Regions from separate parts of the Homo sapiens genome. Here regions 2 and 3 are each linked to region 1. The links are contacts of gene promoters, found by promoter capture Hi-C in blood cells and fetal thymus (Javierre and others, 2016). All regions are on one chromosome and are shown on one strand. Each heading gives the region's core, a stretch centred on a gene start or on the middle of the fragment in contact. The rest is flanking DNA. Distances are from core to core; before and after follow the strand shown.

Region 1 (5,065 bases), core at 1,676-4,175:
GTCTTCGTGAAGATGGACGACTGAGCCCCTTTGGGGGACAGTGGCAAGGAGCTCCATGCTGAGGATCGCCACATGGCTGCAAAGGACAGGGTTGGACCCAATCCCAGAGCAGAGGTCTGAAGACAGGAGCAGGGGGGTGGCCAGTGTCCCTAGAGCACTCTTCCCAGTCACCAGTGGCTGCAGAAGGGCCACCCTAGCCTTTTAACTGCTTTGTCAAAATTAAACATTTTGTACACAGGATTTGTTTCCATAAGAGCTTTTCTTACCCTAAAAATGCCAAGCCTGGTGGCCCTCCTGCTGCTTGATTGCAGGAAGTTCTCCCCAATGTCACTCCTGCCTTAGTCCAGAGCAGAAGGCAAGCTGGTGAGACCAGGGAGGAGGCTGGAACTGGGACACACAAGGACCATGACTGTATTTGTAGAAAACCTTTAATGTTCCCCAGGCTGAGGGAGCCCTGTGAGCCAGCTAAAAACCCCCACTGTGAAGTCCCTGCCATGTCCCAGCAGTGTGGAGTGGCATGGGGCTTCATCCTGACTGTCAGAGGCTGAAGCCACTACCATCTCCTCGAATGCGACTCCCCCAGCCAGAACTGGCCTGCTCCTGGTCATCCAGGGAGGGCAGAGAGCTGCGGGTACCAGGATGTCGGCAGCCAGGGTGCAGGTCCCAGCACGGGGGCCCCTGAGACAGCCCATTGGAACTGGGAGGCTGGCGGTTCTCAATGACCAGGTCACTGCTGTCATCGTCACTATCAGGCTCAGCAGGCCCAGGCCCTGCAGAGGGAGGACCTGTCAAACGCCCAGATGCCCCTCGCACCACGTTATTGCGCTGGTTGGCGGGCTTGACAGTGACAATGAGGTTATGGCTGTTGGCAACCATCATGTCCGTCACTTGGTCCAAGGTCTTCCCGGCTACTTCAATGCCATTGACCTCGAGGATCTCATCACTGACCGCCAGCAGCCCTGTACTCTCAGCCAGACCCCCACGTACCAGGCGGGAGATGAAGATTCCTGGAACCCGCTCCAGGCCCTGGGGAGCCACACGCACGCTCATGCCATCTCGGATGTAGAAGCCCAGGGGGCGGTCTGAACCATGCTTGTGCAGCCGCACCCGTCGGTGGGTCTCAGGCAGTAGGTCCACGTCTATGACTGAGGAAACCTGGCGGAAATCTTGGGGCAGGCTGATTAGCAAGGGTGGCCGGGTGCGCAGGGGTGCCACTGGCCGCAGCAAGAGCCCTTTCTTGCGCCGCTGCAGAGAGTTGGAGGCAAAAGCCAGGCCGCTGGAGTCAGCTTCTGCTGCAGAAGAGGGGGGATGTTGAGATCAGAGACCTGCTCCCCGACTTGGGCTGTTTACAGGGGGCACTGTAGCTATTTCCTACCACTTAGAGGTCAAGCCAAGGGCAGGGACTGCAGAGGGTGACGCTTGGGTACCCTGGGCATGGACTAACCCTTGTAGACCTGCCCCACAGACACCTTACCCCACAGAGGCTGCCCACTGTACCCCTCCTCACCCCGCTTCTGCACCAGTAGGCGCAGTGGCGGGGGCCCGCTGGCCAGGGCCCGGTGCAGGCTGTCGTCGTTGGTGAGGGGCAGCAGGTCGCCATGAGCATCCGTATAGCCAAGTAGCACGTCCAGGCCCGGGATCTGGTGCACCGCCCGCAGCAACCGCGAGAACTCCTGGAAGCCGCTCACCGAAGCGCGAGGCAGCGCGAAGCGTCGGAACTCGGCGTCAAACTGGAAGTCGGGGTTGGGGGAGAGGAGGAGTCAGGACAGCCTGCGCCCCTTTCTCACCGCAGGCTGGCAGGAATGGGAAAGATGCGGCTGCCGCTTTTGCGGCAGCCTTAAGCCCAGACCTCAGCTCCAGTACCAGGGACGCTGTCCAAGGTCTTCTTACCGCCCTCCAGGTACTCAGGCCACAGAGAGCTGGAGACCAGCAGTGGAGGAAGGAAGACGGATGGGGGAAGGCGAGCAGAAAAGCAGAATGGGACTTGGAGGATAGAGGGAAGAGGTGGCGGGGACCAAGGAGCTGGGAAGGGGAGAAAGAGGGAATTGGGAGCGCCTAGGGCCGAGGCCGGAGGAGCCCTTACTTTGCTCTTCACCTCGACGATGCTATCGGGACTGCGCGCCGGAGTCCTCTGCGGCCGGGCCATGGCGGGGCCGGGCGGGCCGGGGACGGTGCCCCAGGCGGCCCGCCGAGGCGCAGGTGCACAGCCCGGCCGGCCCGCCCGCGCCGCCCCGCCCCTGGCGGTAGCACACGCCCCGCCTTCCCATCCGGAGCGTGACGTCAAGGGGGCAGCGACGCAGAGTGGAACGCGGAGTCCACGTTTCCTAGGAAACGGAGCCGTGGATGGAGAGGAGCCGTCCTCCGCTCTTGCGTCATCACGCTGAGGTCCGCGCGCCCCCGGAGTCTGGGGAGCAGGGCTCCGCCAATCCGAGGGGAGGGCGAAGGAAGTACCATTTATTTAGCGCTGTGTGTGTGCTCTTATTTCCACTGGCCTTACAAGACCGTGCACTGTGTAGATGAGGAAACTGAGTCATAATAAATATGTGCTGAACCGTTCGGGGGTCACACGGTGCTGAAATGGTTTCGAGTCAACTCGCTCGGACGGCACTCGGCCTCAGCCTCCGGCCCTGGAACCCTCTCCAGGGACGGGACCAGCCCTTGTTCTGTTCCCTACCGGTACCACAGGAATCTTGACGAACGGCCCAAATGCCTGGCCGCTGTCAGAGTGACGCCGCGATGAGAGTAAACGGGCCAGCATCCCGTGCACCAGCGGGGTGGACCAGCGGGAGTCTGCACACAGGCCCCCGAGCAGGACGCCCTCGTGCGCAGGCGCGGGGTGTACGTGGGCGGGGCCTCCTCCTCCGGCCCCGCCCAGCGAAGGAGCTTCCTCTTCCGAGGAAAGGCGGGGCCTGGGCGCCCGCGGGAAACCCGGGCCCGTTGCATCCGCTGGGTGTAGCCGTGGGGATGGCAGGTTCGGGGAGGCTGGTCCTACGGCCCTGGATTCGGGAGCTGATTCTGGGGTCAGAGACACCCTCCAGTCCACGAGCCGGGCAGCTGCTTGAGGTGAGCCCCCATTCAGGGCCCGGAGACCGAGGCGGAGGCCCGGGGTGGTGGGATTGACGCCGCTCGCCGCCGTCAGGTACTACAGGACGCCGAGGCCGCGGTCGCGGGCCCATCCCACGCCCCTGATACGTCCGACGTCGGGGCCACGCTGCTTGTGTCTGACGGGACCCACAGTGTCCGATGCCTGGTGACGCGGGAGGCCCTGGACACCTCGGACTGGTGAGAGGCCCCGCGCGGCTCTGGAGGTCGGAGTCCGGCAGGAGAGCGCGAGGTGGGCGGGCCTTGTGTTCAGGTGGGCCCGGCAGTGAGGATCCTGCTTGTTGCAGGGAGGAGAAGGAGTTCGGCTTCCGCGGGACAGAGGGCCGGCTGCTGCTGCTGCAGGACTGCGGGGTTCATGTCCAGGTCGCTGAGGGCGGCGCGGTGAGTGGTGAGACTGCCTTGGGCGGGTTACCGGGCATGACTCTTCGTGACGATTCTGAGACCCCCCCTTCCCCCCGAACTCCTCCAGCCCGCAGAGTTCTATCTCCAGGTGGACCGCTTCAGCCTGCTGCCCACGGAGCAGCCCCGGCTACGGGTGCCTGGTTGGTAAGTGATGCCTCCGCCCTCCAGCAGCTCTCCCCACCCCAGCCTGGCCGGCGCTGGCAGACGCCTATGGGGTAGGAGGGCTTGGGCCCCCATTAACTACCCTTCTCTTTTTCTTAGCAACCAAGACTTAGATGTTCAGAAAAAGCTCTATGACTGCCTTGAGTGAGTCTGGGGTTGGGCTCGGGGGCCACGTGTTGTTTGGTGAGGGGATGGTGTATCTAGGTAGACAGGCCTCAGCATGGTTCCTGAGTCCTGGCCACTCTCTTCCTGTAGGGAGCACCTTTCAGAGTCCACCTCGTCCAATGCAGGTACTGTAGAGCTTGACCAGTGATCCTAACACGCTGTGCAGTGATCTCTCCAGCCTTAACCTTATGCTTCCTCAATAAGCTGTCTTCCCCCTCACCCTCCTGGTCCTCCCCTTTAAGCCTTGACTCATCCCATGGTCCCCTGTCCCCAGGCCTATCACTGTCCCAGCTTCTGGATGAAATGCGGGAGGACCAGGAGCATCAGGGGGCACTCGTGTGCCTGGCTGAAAGCTGCCTGACACTGGAGGGCCCTTGCACAGCACCCCCTGTCACCCACTGGGCTGCCTCACGATGCAAGGCCACGGTCAGTCTGGGGATTTGCTTGGGAGATGTCAGGGTGAGGAGTTGGGCAAGGGTCATATCCCACAGGACATGAGAGTAAACGGGCCTGTCCTACAGAGTTCATGTCCCACAGGGAGAAGCTGTGTACACTGTCCCCAGCTCAATGCTGTGCATCTCTGAGAATGACCAGCTAATTCTGAGCTCTCTAGGCCCCTGTCAGAGGACACAGGGTAAGGGGGACTGGAGAGGTTGGGGGGATACCTGGGGCCCAGGTCCACAGTGCTGATAAGACTTCCTGAACCCCCCAGGCCCTGAGCTGCCCCCACCAGACCCGGCTCTGCAGGACCTATCTCTGACCCTCATAGCCTCTCCTCCTTCCTCACCCAGTTCCTCAGGTGAGGTGATGCACAGGTCACAGGCACTCACTGCCGCCTGTCAGTCAGGTTCCCGGGCTGCGCAGGATGCTGTGAAAGGTGCACGGTGGGTGGGGGATGAACACGGTCCCTGCAGTCCTGTCTGAGCTCGCAGGCCACTCAGCTGCCCTGAGCGGAGAGGGCTGTGCCTACAATAAGTCCCCTCCTCCTCAGGAACCCCGGCCTTACCCGGCCACATGTCATCCGAGGAAAGTGGTACCAGCATCAGCCTTCTGCCTGCCCTGTCCTTGGCTGCTCCAGACCCAGGGCAGAGAAGCAGCTCCCAGCCCTCACCAGCCATCTGCTCAGCCCCTGCCACCCTGACCCCCAGGTCCCCACACGCCAGCCGTACCCCCAGCTCCCCACTCCAGAGCTGCACTCCCAGTCTCTCACCCCGTAGCCATGTCCCCAGTCCAC
Region 2 (5,065 bases), core at 1,527-4,026, 590 kb before region 1:
AAAAAAAAAAAAAAAGTGAATGGAAGCCATTTATCAGGCAAAGGGTGTAGAAATAGATTCCAGGCCAAAAGAACAGCAGGTACAAAGACATGGCATGTCCCAAGAAGAATAAGCAGCTGGAGAGGTAGGGGAGGCCGAGGCACAGACAAGGAAAGGGGTGGGGGCCATGCCGAGGCTCTGAATAGGGGCTGGGACACAGAAATTTTGTGTAGGCAGGCGTAGTGGCTCATGCCTGTAATCCCAGCACTTTGGGAGTCCAAGGTGGGCAGAACACTTGAGCTCAGGAGTTCAAGACCAGCATGGCCAACATGGTGAAACACCATCTCCACTAAAAATACAAAAAATTAGCCAGGCATGGTGGCGGGCACCTGTAATCCCAGCTACTTGGGAGGCTGAGGCACAAGAATCGCTTGAACCTGGGAGACGGAGGTTGCAGTGAGCTGAGATGGCGCCAGCCTGAGTGACACAGCAAGACTCCATCCCAAAATAAAAGAAAAAAAAAATTGTGTGTAGGCATGAGAGGCCAGGACTGGAGAGTAGAGGAACAAGGGCAGCAGGAAGGGAAAGTTAGTTCTGCCTGGGAGTGCAGAGGTGGTGCCAACCAGACCAGACCAGACCAGACCGAGGACCTGGGGAAGGAGAGAGGTCAGTGACCTCGAGATGAGGATAGAAGGAACAGACTCTGGAGGCCTCTCAGGCACTGTTGGTGAGCAGCACCCCCCTCTGTGTGCCCCAGCCCCCACCTGATATTGTCAATCCAGCAGTCAATGATGACAGGCAGCAGCAGTTCCAGGTTCAGCCAGATTGTGAAGTAGCTTTCGGTCTTCTTGGAGCAGAGGTAGTGCACCACTGTCGGCTTGTCCAGCTTGGCTTCCAGTTGGTTACCCAAATCACCAGGGACTGCAGGGGGCACAGGACATGTGTGAGCCCTCAGCCCGGCAGGTTCAAGACTCCCAAGAACTTTGATGTCTGCAGCAGACCCCCTGAAGAGCCACAGATAATATGGCAGACCTGTGCAGTTCCACATCTCAAATTAAAGCACAGTGCTGGTGGCAGGAAATTCAGAGAGCAGGGACCTTGACCCAAAGGCCAGGGAACCATCTTTGTGCAGAAAAGCTGCTACTGCTGTGTGGTGCAGAGATGCCTGTGGGGGGCTTGGGAGAGGCCTGACATGTTTGGGGAAGGGCCCTAACATTGTCTCCAACTCCAGATAAAGTAAGTCTCCTGGATTTTCACTGGAACATCCTCCTGGGCCATTCAGATTATTGGAAGGGGGTTCAGGGTGAAGTCACTCCCCACACTAGGCCTCAGTTTCCGTATCTGTTAAATGAGATCTTGGTCTGAATCACCCCCAGCAAACACAGACACACCTCTACACATGGTTTCTATGGTTAATGGACCCCGATGGGAGCTCTGCCTGGGAGGAGGGGCTTGGAGACCCCTTTGCATTCCAGAACCTCCAAAGTTTGGCCAAGGCCCTTGTCATTAGATATATACCTTCGAGGCAGGGCGCAGGGGCTCATGCCTGTAATCCCAGCACTTTGGGAGGCCGAGGTGAGTGGATCACTTGCGGTCAGGAGTTCAAGACCAGCTTGGCCAATATGGTGAAAGCCCATCTCTACTAAAAATACAAAAAATTACCTTGGTGTGGTGGCACACACCTGTAATCCCAGCTACTCAGGAGCCTAAGACAGGAGAATTGCTTGAACCCGGGAGGCAGAGGTTGCAGTGAGCCAAAATCGTGCCATTGCCCTCCAGCCTGGGTGACAGAGCAAGACCCGGTCTCAAAAAAAAAAAAAGATATATACCCTGGAGGCTTGAACCCAAAAGTCTTCCACCCATAGCTATCCCAGGCTACATAGAAGACAGGGTCCTGTTCGCCCTGAGAGAGGAAGAAGGAAACAGAACAGAGCCCTGGGCCACTCAGCTAAAATTCAACCAGACAAAGTATGCAGGACAGGCTGGTGGGAGGGAAATGAACAGAAACACAGCTGAGAGAAGCTTACATTGGCACCCGCCAGCCTACCAAGGGCCCAGGCCTTACTAAAGGCCAGAGTCCAGTAAGGTGCCAGAGAGCAGATCATCTGGAGGGCCCTAGCATGGCTGGGAGCCCGTATTGGAAACAGCCACCCTGAACCAGCACCATTATCACCACAGTCCAGGCCCTAGGGTGACTTCTCTCCATCCCAGCCATCCTATTCAGTGTACTCAGAACTCTGGGGCCCTGGTGACACCCAAATCCCTCCCCACTGCGTCAAAGCCCTTCACAGTCTCGTTACTCCCATTGACCTTTCGGGCCTCACCTGCCCCCACATGCCATGCTCTCGCCACTTCCCAAACACATCCCCGTTTAGGGTCCATGATCATTGAGTGAAAAACCAGCACTTGGCTCTCCTGGACATTCACTGGGAACTGACCGTAAATCCACCCTGAACAGGGCGTGCCCTCCCTGGGCACCATCCCAGTGTCTTCAGGGTGCCATGAGAGGCAGGGGCGGCACATGCCTTCACCTCCCTTCATGGTATGGGTGCAGAGGGAGGGAGTCCCTGTCATGACAGCCTCTGGATGACATGCCTGTGGACTGGGCAGGGCAGGGCAGAGACCCTGGTCACTGTCTCTACCAAAGGGGAAATGGTAAAAGAGGAAGTCACCAGATCTGCTTTGCTCAGATGCTCCTTACCCTGGTCAGGCTGTGTGGCCCCTAAAAATAGCAGTGGCCACTTCCTGAGCCCATCTGCGCCTGGAACTAGGAAAAGAGCCATCCACATGCCTTTCACCTCAAGTAACACTGGGAGGGGACAGCCTTACTATTTCCACTTAACAGATGGGGAGACTGAGGCTGCAAGAGGTGGAAATGGCCTTGCCTATGGTCCCTTCCCCTTGCCCAGGGTCTTCTGTATCACATCGCTGGTCTCTCTTTCCTCCACCACCATTTCAGGATCCACCCCTAGAGGATTCTGATCTTCTGACAGTCAAGGTCAGATCCCTGCTCTGTGCCCAGGAGCTGCTTATCCAACTGCCCACCGTGAGGTCTCCCAGGGCTAAGGCCAGCAGCCTCACTCCCTGAGAAGCTGGGCATGTTAGGACTCCTGCTGCTCTGTGATTCTGGGTGGGGTCTGAGGCTCTTCTGCTGTGACCAAGGATAAACAGACTGACTGAATTGATGAGTGCGGTTAGCATCAATCCAGGCAAAATGGCTATGTGCCATTTTGTGTGCCACAGACCACATGCTTCCTAATGCCACGCCCCTCAGACTTAGAACTCTGCAGGCCAACCCAGGACTCCCTGAGGCCCTCAAGATAAAGTTCAGATGACCCAACCAGTCACAAGTCCTGTGCAGTCCACTCCTCCTGTGACTCGATCCCAGGCAGCCTGAGATGCTCACGTCTCTCCCCGACCCATTACTCTCTCCTGGCCTTAGCTCCAGCTATATACTCCAGGAAGCCTTACTTGACACCCACCCATCCAGGCTGGGTTGGTGGATTCTCTGTGCTTGCCCCACACAGACTTCCTCTCTGGGGATCACTGTTATTCCTATCCTGCAAGCTTTGGGGAGGCAGGGCCAAGTCTGCCCAAATCCCATGGTGAACCTGGGCCTAGTATCCCCCTGGAGCTTTTCCTGGCTGGGAACTCCTGGTGGGGCCTGCCTGGCACCACCCTACCTGCCAACTCTACCCTTCTGTGATTTGCATCGTCCCCATTTAAAGTACTCTCAGCAGAAAGAGCATGGAGATCATGCTGCACTAGACTCCACGTGTAATTCATGCCTCAGATGCCTCTGCTTTCAGGAATCCTGGCTGGCCACGGACACACCAGCTCTGGATGGGAGTGACGGCCTCAATGAGGCACCCAAGGCCCCCCAGACAGAGGTCTCATCCCTGCCCATCCCTGCAAGGAAATACAGTGGCCGTTGTAGAGTTGCCAGGGTTGTGATCAAGGAGCGGGGTGAGCAGGGGAGGTCACCGAGCCTCCACATAGTCTAGTCCAAGCATGTGTGGCAGGGTAAGAGTACAAGCATGTTGCCTGACACAGGTTCATGGCCATTGTCCCAACCCTTTCCCCTGACTTCAGTTGTCTTCAGTTTCCCTTAGGCCTTTTCCCTCAGGCAATGCCACACATCTGATAAGTTGTGGGAGTTGGTGGCCAGCTAGGACAGCAATCCTTTCCCTAAGGAGGTTCCTTTCAGCAATGCCTTCTGGCATATGTGGCATTGGAGGGGTCGAGGGTGACAGCCTCCTAACCAGGCCCAGGTCGATGCAGAAGTCAACTCAGGAGCCACTCTACACACCCCCACCATCCCTCAGGAGTGGGGCTGAAGCACCTGTCTTTCCAGCTTAAAAATGGGATAAGGGGAGGCAAGGCTTGGGAATGATGCGGACAGGTGGAACTATGAATAACCAGATGGTAACTCTCCCACTCACCCCCATTTTCTACCAGGACAGGAGGTGGGGAGCTGACCACACCCGCGCCCAGCATGGCGGGAGGTGAGCCGGCAGATCTAGATCACCTAAGTGACAAGACAGATACCAATACGCTCCCCCATTTCGTGACTGGAACAGAAGCAGACCGGGAAGGCAGCCCCGCCCGCGGCCCGTCCCGCCCGACCGACAGATCCACCACGAGACCCGTGCCTCACCCAGCACCACTGGGGGGTGACGTCCGGCCGGGAGCGCTGGGTCCGCGAGCAGCATTAGCAGCAGCAAGAGGAACAGGAGGCCATCCGGGAGCAGCCCCACACGGTAGGGGCGGAGGTGGAGGCCCATGGTGTACGACGGTCGCCGCAGGTCCGGGATGCAGGTTCAGCTCTCTGGGCTCTCGCCTAGGCGGGGGCGGTGGCGACGCGCTTAACCCCGCCGCCCGCATCCCCCGCATCCCCCCGGCCAATCAGGGCCCGCCTCCCGCAAATGGCTGGCCAATAGGGACTCGCCGCCATATACGCCCCTCCCAGTCGGAGGTCGCCGCCCCGCCCTTGCCCAACCCCCTGCTTCCTGGACCACGCTGAGCGCCGAGCGCATCGATGGATCGAGGTATCGCCTGGCTCCGGGCTGTCAGTCGCCCACCCGGG
Region 3 (5,065 bases), core at 1,783-4,282, 560 kb before region 1:
TCTTCATATTAGATTATCATCAGGCATCATCATTATGTCTCCCAAATAGGCTATGAACTCCCAAAAGGCAAGAACCTTGCCACTGAGGAAACACCCATTCCTGATGACTAAATAAATGGACCCTAATTCAATACAATCACTTGGAAGCTATTTAGAACAAGCACAGTGAAAGTTCATTAGGTGGTAGGTAGGAAGGGGACCAGAGTATGTTAAGACTAATGCATGTTATTTGATTTTCACAGTGTGTATTTTAGGCAGGCGTTACAGCAGTGGCAAAAAGCCAAATATATAAGCAAGCACCTGGCTCACAATCAAATCATCTTTTCTTATCATTTATCACTTCCAAAGGCAATAATTTCAAAGATGTTCCAGGCTGCTATGAAAAACACTTTTAACAATTTGTATTTCACTGTTCAAGTTTTAAAACTACAAACGGATTTTAAATGGTGTTTTATCATCAAAAACCACATGACGTGTTTTCTCTCTTTTTTTTCTTTTTTCTATTTTTTTTTTTTTTTTTTTTTTTTTTTTTTTTTTTTTGGCAATGGGGTCTCACTCTGTTGCCCAGGCTGGAATGCAGGTGGCACAATCACGGCTCACTGCAGCCTTGATCTTCCCACCTAAGCCTCCTGAGTAGCTGGGCCTACAGGCATGTGCTACTACGCCTATGCCTTTCTAATTTTTGGATTTTTTTTTTCTTTCTGCAGAGATGAGGTCTCACCATGTTGCCCAAGCTAGTCTCAAACTCCTGGACTCAAGTGATCCTCCTGCCTCAGCCTCCTAAAGTACTAGGATTACAGGCGTGACCCACTGCACCCAGCCGAGGTGTTGTTCTTCTATATCTTATAAGAAGTCAATGCTTCTATTTTCCTGACGATGAGGGTCCATATCTGGCACTGTCCATCCACTTACCAAGTACACTTATATAAGGATGAAACCATCATTTTCTAAAGTAGATATGTGGTATTGATTATAATGGAAGCCTGCTCAATGCTGTGTTATTTCTGCTCCCCCTTGCCAAAGCTCTGCTGTTCCTTTGCCTGGTGTGCCTCACCTTACTTAGCTGAAGGAACCTGGAAAGTTCCTGACAGTTTAGGATTTTAAGACTATGTTAAAGTCAGAAGATTTTCCACAAAGTAGTGCTCAAGCGGACTATACTCAACTATACATTATACTACAGGATTCACTTATTTATGAATTCACCAGCAGTCAGGAGATTTAAGTTCCAACGGGGCAGACTTTCTCTATCTTGTTTTCCCCTGAATCCCTAGTGCTTACATATATTGAGTACTAAATAAAATTACTTGCCAACTGAATCTTTAAAACAATTTGGGGACTTGGAACAATGACAACAAAAATCATGCTCAAGTAATTGCTACAGGTGAGCACTGAATATAAATTTTAGGCTAGGGAGTCAGAACTGCAACAAAGTGCTTTCACAGACCTTTAGCAATAACTTGAGCCGAGTGTTAATCATGCAAGTCCTCTGCTTTCCTTCTCCCTCACTTCTCCCTCGGGCTGGGGGCTCTGGGTTCAGGCTCTCACCTCTAGATTCCTCAGATATCTTCCTGCTGGGACTGGCCAAAACGTAGGTCTCAACTGAAGCAAGTCAAAATTATTACTGGTAAACAAATCTATGATGTAATGTAAATGTAAGTCATTAGCAATCTTGATAAGCACAATTTTTAAGTTGTTAAAAATACTAATGCTTGCAATTTAATTTTTCAAGTCATCTTGAATGGATATATGCATGAATTTGCTAATTTATTTAAACTGTAATCCAGGCCAGGTGCCATGGCTCATGCCTGTTATCCCAACACTAGGGGAAGCCAAGGCAGGAAGATTGTTTGAGGCCAGGAGTTCAAGAAGAGCCTGGCCAACAAACAAAGTGACAATTTTTTTTTTTTTTCTGAGACAGAGTCTCCCTCTGTCTCCCAGGCTGGAGTGCGGTGGCGCAATCTCAGCTCACTGCAAGCTCCGCCTCCCAAGTTCACGCCATTCTCTTGTCTCAGCCTCCCGAGTAGCTGGGACTATAGGCGCCCGCCACAATGCCTGGCTATTTTTTTTTTTTTGTATTTTTTTTTTTAGTAGAGACGGGGTTTCACCGTGTTAGCCAGGATGGTGTCGATCTCCTGACCTCGTGATCCACCTGCCTCGACCTCCCAAAGTGCCGGGATTACAGGCGTGAGCCACCCTGCCCGGCCGGGACAATTTGTCTCTTAAAAAAAAAAAAAAGGAAAAATAAACTCTAGTCCACTAAGTATGTGAGGTGGTTTCCTATTTTTTTCACCAATTTAAGATAAGAGTATAAGGAATTGTTTATGCCCCTAATGTACAATTTTATCATTTTTCTTCCCCCCAATTTTTTTGAGATAGAGTCTTACTCTGTCACCCAGGCTAGAGTGCAGTGGTGTGGTCTTGGCTCACTGCAACTGCTGCCTCCCACCCAGCTAATTTTTGTATTTTTGGTAGAAACGAGGTTTCTGCCATGTTGGCCAGGTTGGTCTCAAACTCCTGACCTCACATGATCTGGCCACCTCGGCCTCTCAAAATGCTGGGATTACAGGCGTGAGTCACCGCACCCAGCCCTCATTTTCCTCCCTTTAAAGAGCAAAGTGAATTAAAAGCCTAGAACAAGAGTGAACAGTCCTCAATAAGGGTGCTAACAGGTTATGTAGGTCACAGGATCTGGCACACTTTTGGCAGCCACCATCTGTGACTTCCACTACCCCAACACCTGAATTTGCCTGTGCCACCACAACAAAAGTAGAGTCACAGCTATCAATAATGTTTGCTGTAAGAGAAAAAGTTCGTATTCAAGAAATGTTCAAATTGGCAGTCCACTGGAATGCTATTTCTACACACAAGAATGAGGTGCTTGAGTACCAATAGGACTCTTATTTAGAGCTATTTCCCATGCTTAAGAATTCAAAGTTAGAACTGACAAGTATATAGTATGGAACCTCACAACCAGGTAGAGAGGGGCAGGGTAACCCAGTGTGCTCCCTCTTTGAAGGGAGTAGATACACACTGCCATATACACAAAATCCCAACGGGCCTTTCTAATTTGCAATTTTGTAAAGGATTTCGGGGTATTTTTAGACTCCATTTATATGTTATTTCCTCTTGAAGCTGCAATGAACATTCACCAAAGTTTGGTCATGTTATTCTTTTCCTGAACCTGAAGATTAAAGGTATTCATCCCCTGGGTAAACAATTTTATGAAGGTGTTATTATTATTATTATTACTATTATTATTTTAGGAGACAGTGTCTTAGTCTGCCACCCAGGCTGGAGTGAAGTGGTGTGATCATAGCTCACTACAGCCGTGAACTCCTAGGCTCAAGCGATCCTCCCGCTTCAGAGCCCTGCCCCAAGTAGCTGGGACTACAGGCATGTGCCACCAAGACCAGCTAATTTATTTTTTTATTTTTATTTATTTTTTTTGAGACAGAGTCTTGCTCTGTCACCTAGGCTGGAGTGCAGTGGCATGATCTCAGCTCACCGCAACCTCCGCCTCCCGGGTTCAAGCAATTCTCCTGCCCCAGCCTCCCAAGTAGCTGGGATTACAGGTACCTGCCACCATGCCCAGCTAATTTTTTTTGTATTTTAGTAGAGGCGGGGTTTCACCATGTTCAGGCTGGTCTCAAACTCCTGACCTTGTGATCTGCCCGCTTCAGCCTCCCAAAGTGCTGGGATTACAGGCGTGAGCCACCGCGCCTGGTCCAGCTGATTTATTTTTGGGGAGGATAGAGACAGGGTCTTATTATGTTGCCCAGGCTGGTCTCGAACTTCTGGCCTCAATTGATCCTTCTACCTCGCCTCGGCCTCCTAAAGCGCTGGCATTACAGGCATGAATCACCGTGCCCAGCCGAGATGTTGTTTTTATAAAATAAAGACTAAATGTATTTTAAAAATGAAGCCTACATGTATGCAATTATTATAAAAGCACCATCTAGGCCGGGCGTGGTGGCTCACGCCTGTAATCTCAGCACTTTGGGAGGCCGAGGCGGGCGGATCATGAGGTCAGGAGATTGGGACCATCCTGGCTAACATGGTGAAACCCCGTCTCTATTAAAAATACAAAAAATTAGCTGGGCGTGGCGGCAGGCACCTGTAGTCCCAGCTACTCAGGAGGCTGAGGCAGGAGAATGGAGTGAACCCATGAGGCAGAGCTTGCAGTGAGCCAAGATCGCACACTGCACTCCAGCCTGGGTGACAGAGTGAGACTCTGTCTCAAAATAAAAAAAAAAAGCACCATCTAAACTAAATACAGGAAAAAATACTGAATTCACCTTTTTTTTTTTTTTTTTTTGAGAGGCTCTCATTCTGTCGCCCAGGCTGGAGTGCAGTGGCACGATCTTGGCTCACTGCAACCTGCACAGCACCAAACCTGGCCAATTTTTTCTTAAATTTTTGGTAGAAACAGGGTTTGCCATGTTGCCCAGGCTGGTCTCAAACTCCTGAACTCAAGTGATCTGTCTGCCTCGGCCTTCCAAAGTGCTGGGATAACAGGCATGAGCCACCATGCCTGGCCTGAATTCACCTATTTATGGCATGAGTTGAGAAATTAATTTGGATTTATCAAAATCTGATTAATTTGGCCAGGTGTGGTGGGTCATGCTTGTAATCCCAGCACTTTGGGAGGTTGAGACAAGAGGATCACTTGAGCCCAGGGAGTTCCAGGATGCAGTAAGCTATGATCGTGCACCACTGCACTCCAGCCTAGGCAACAGTGTGAGACCCTGTCTCCAAATAAAACAAAAAAAAGGGAAAAACCAAAAAATATTCATTTGATTTTTCAAGCTACAGACAGAAATAAGTTCCTGAAAATTTAGAAGGTATCTATGGTAGGCTGCTAATTATCTTAATTCATTCTTCCACAGTAATCGAGGTTTAGTTAGTCACACTGACACCCAGCTACAGAGTATATTTCCTGGCTTCCCCAGTGTAGCTAGGTATGGCCCATGCAATTCGTTTTCTTCAATGAAATGTGAGCAAAAGCGATGTACGTATCTTCCTCATCACTTGCTTGGCCTCCTTCTTCCTCCCTTTTTCCCATCCC

Evidence for each region. Contacts are between HindIII fragments. The CHiCAGO score rates a contact against its expected background, and 5 or more counts as called.
Region 2: a fragment that was not itself captured here is called in contact with the fragment with the promoter of ACD in region 1 in 1 of 17 cell types (neutrophils); the score reaches 5.9 in neutrophils.
Region 3: a fragment that was not itself captured here is called in contact with the fragment with the promoter of ACD in region 1 in 1 of 17 cell types (neutrophils); the score reaches 5.0 in neutrophils.

What each region holds. Positions count from the first base shown.
Region 1 is chr16:67,658,120-67,663,184 of GRCh38, reverse strand. It overlaps ACD (ACD shelterin complex subunit and telomerase recruitment factor), which reads left to right and starts at 2,925. Exons shown (of 12, transcript NM_001082486.2): 1 at 2,925-3,063; 2 at 3,140-3,282; 3 at 3,390-3,483; 4 at 3,572-3,648; 5 at 3,766-3,810; 6 at 3,922-3,956; 7 at 4,106-4,257; 8 at 4,369-4,465; 9 at 4,544-4,630; 10 at 4,823-5,065. The coding sequence starts at 2,965. PARD6A (par-6 family cell polarity regulator alpha) reads right to left here and starts at 2,225. Exons shown (of 3, transcript NM_001037281.2): 1 at 2,084-2,225; 2 at 1,508-1,730; 3 at 411-1,289. The coding sequence starts at 2,146. The coding sequence ends at 538. It overlaps ENKD1 (enkurin domain containing 1), which reads left to right. Exons shown (of 7, transcript NM_032140.3): 7 at 1-240. The coding sequence ends at 24. RefSeq lists silencers at 1,959-2,438, 2,749-2,858 and an enhancer at 3,012-3,595. The HindIII fragment of the contact is 13,736 bases long and covers 1-5,065 here.
Region 2 is chr16:68,245,125-68,250,189 of GRCh38, reverse strand. PLA2G15 (phospholipase A2 group XV) reads right to left here and starts at 4,817. Exons shown (of 6, transcript NM_012320.4): 1 at 4,637-4,817; 2 at 744-900. The coding sequence starts at 4,763. RefSeq lists an enhancer at 3,851-4,351 and a silencer at 4,768-4,997. The HindIII fragment of the contact is 1,545 bases long and covers 2,004-3,548 here.
Region 3 is chr16:68,217,765-68,222,829 of GRCh38, reverse strand. All of the region lies in intron 9 of NFATC3 (nuclear factor of activated T cells 3), which reads right to left. Among named protein-coding and RNA genes, the nearest start is that of MIR6773, 13 kb to the left of the region's middle. The HindIII fragment of the contact is 8,696 bases long and covers 1-5,065 here.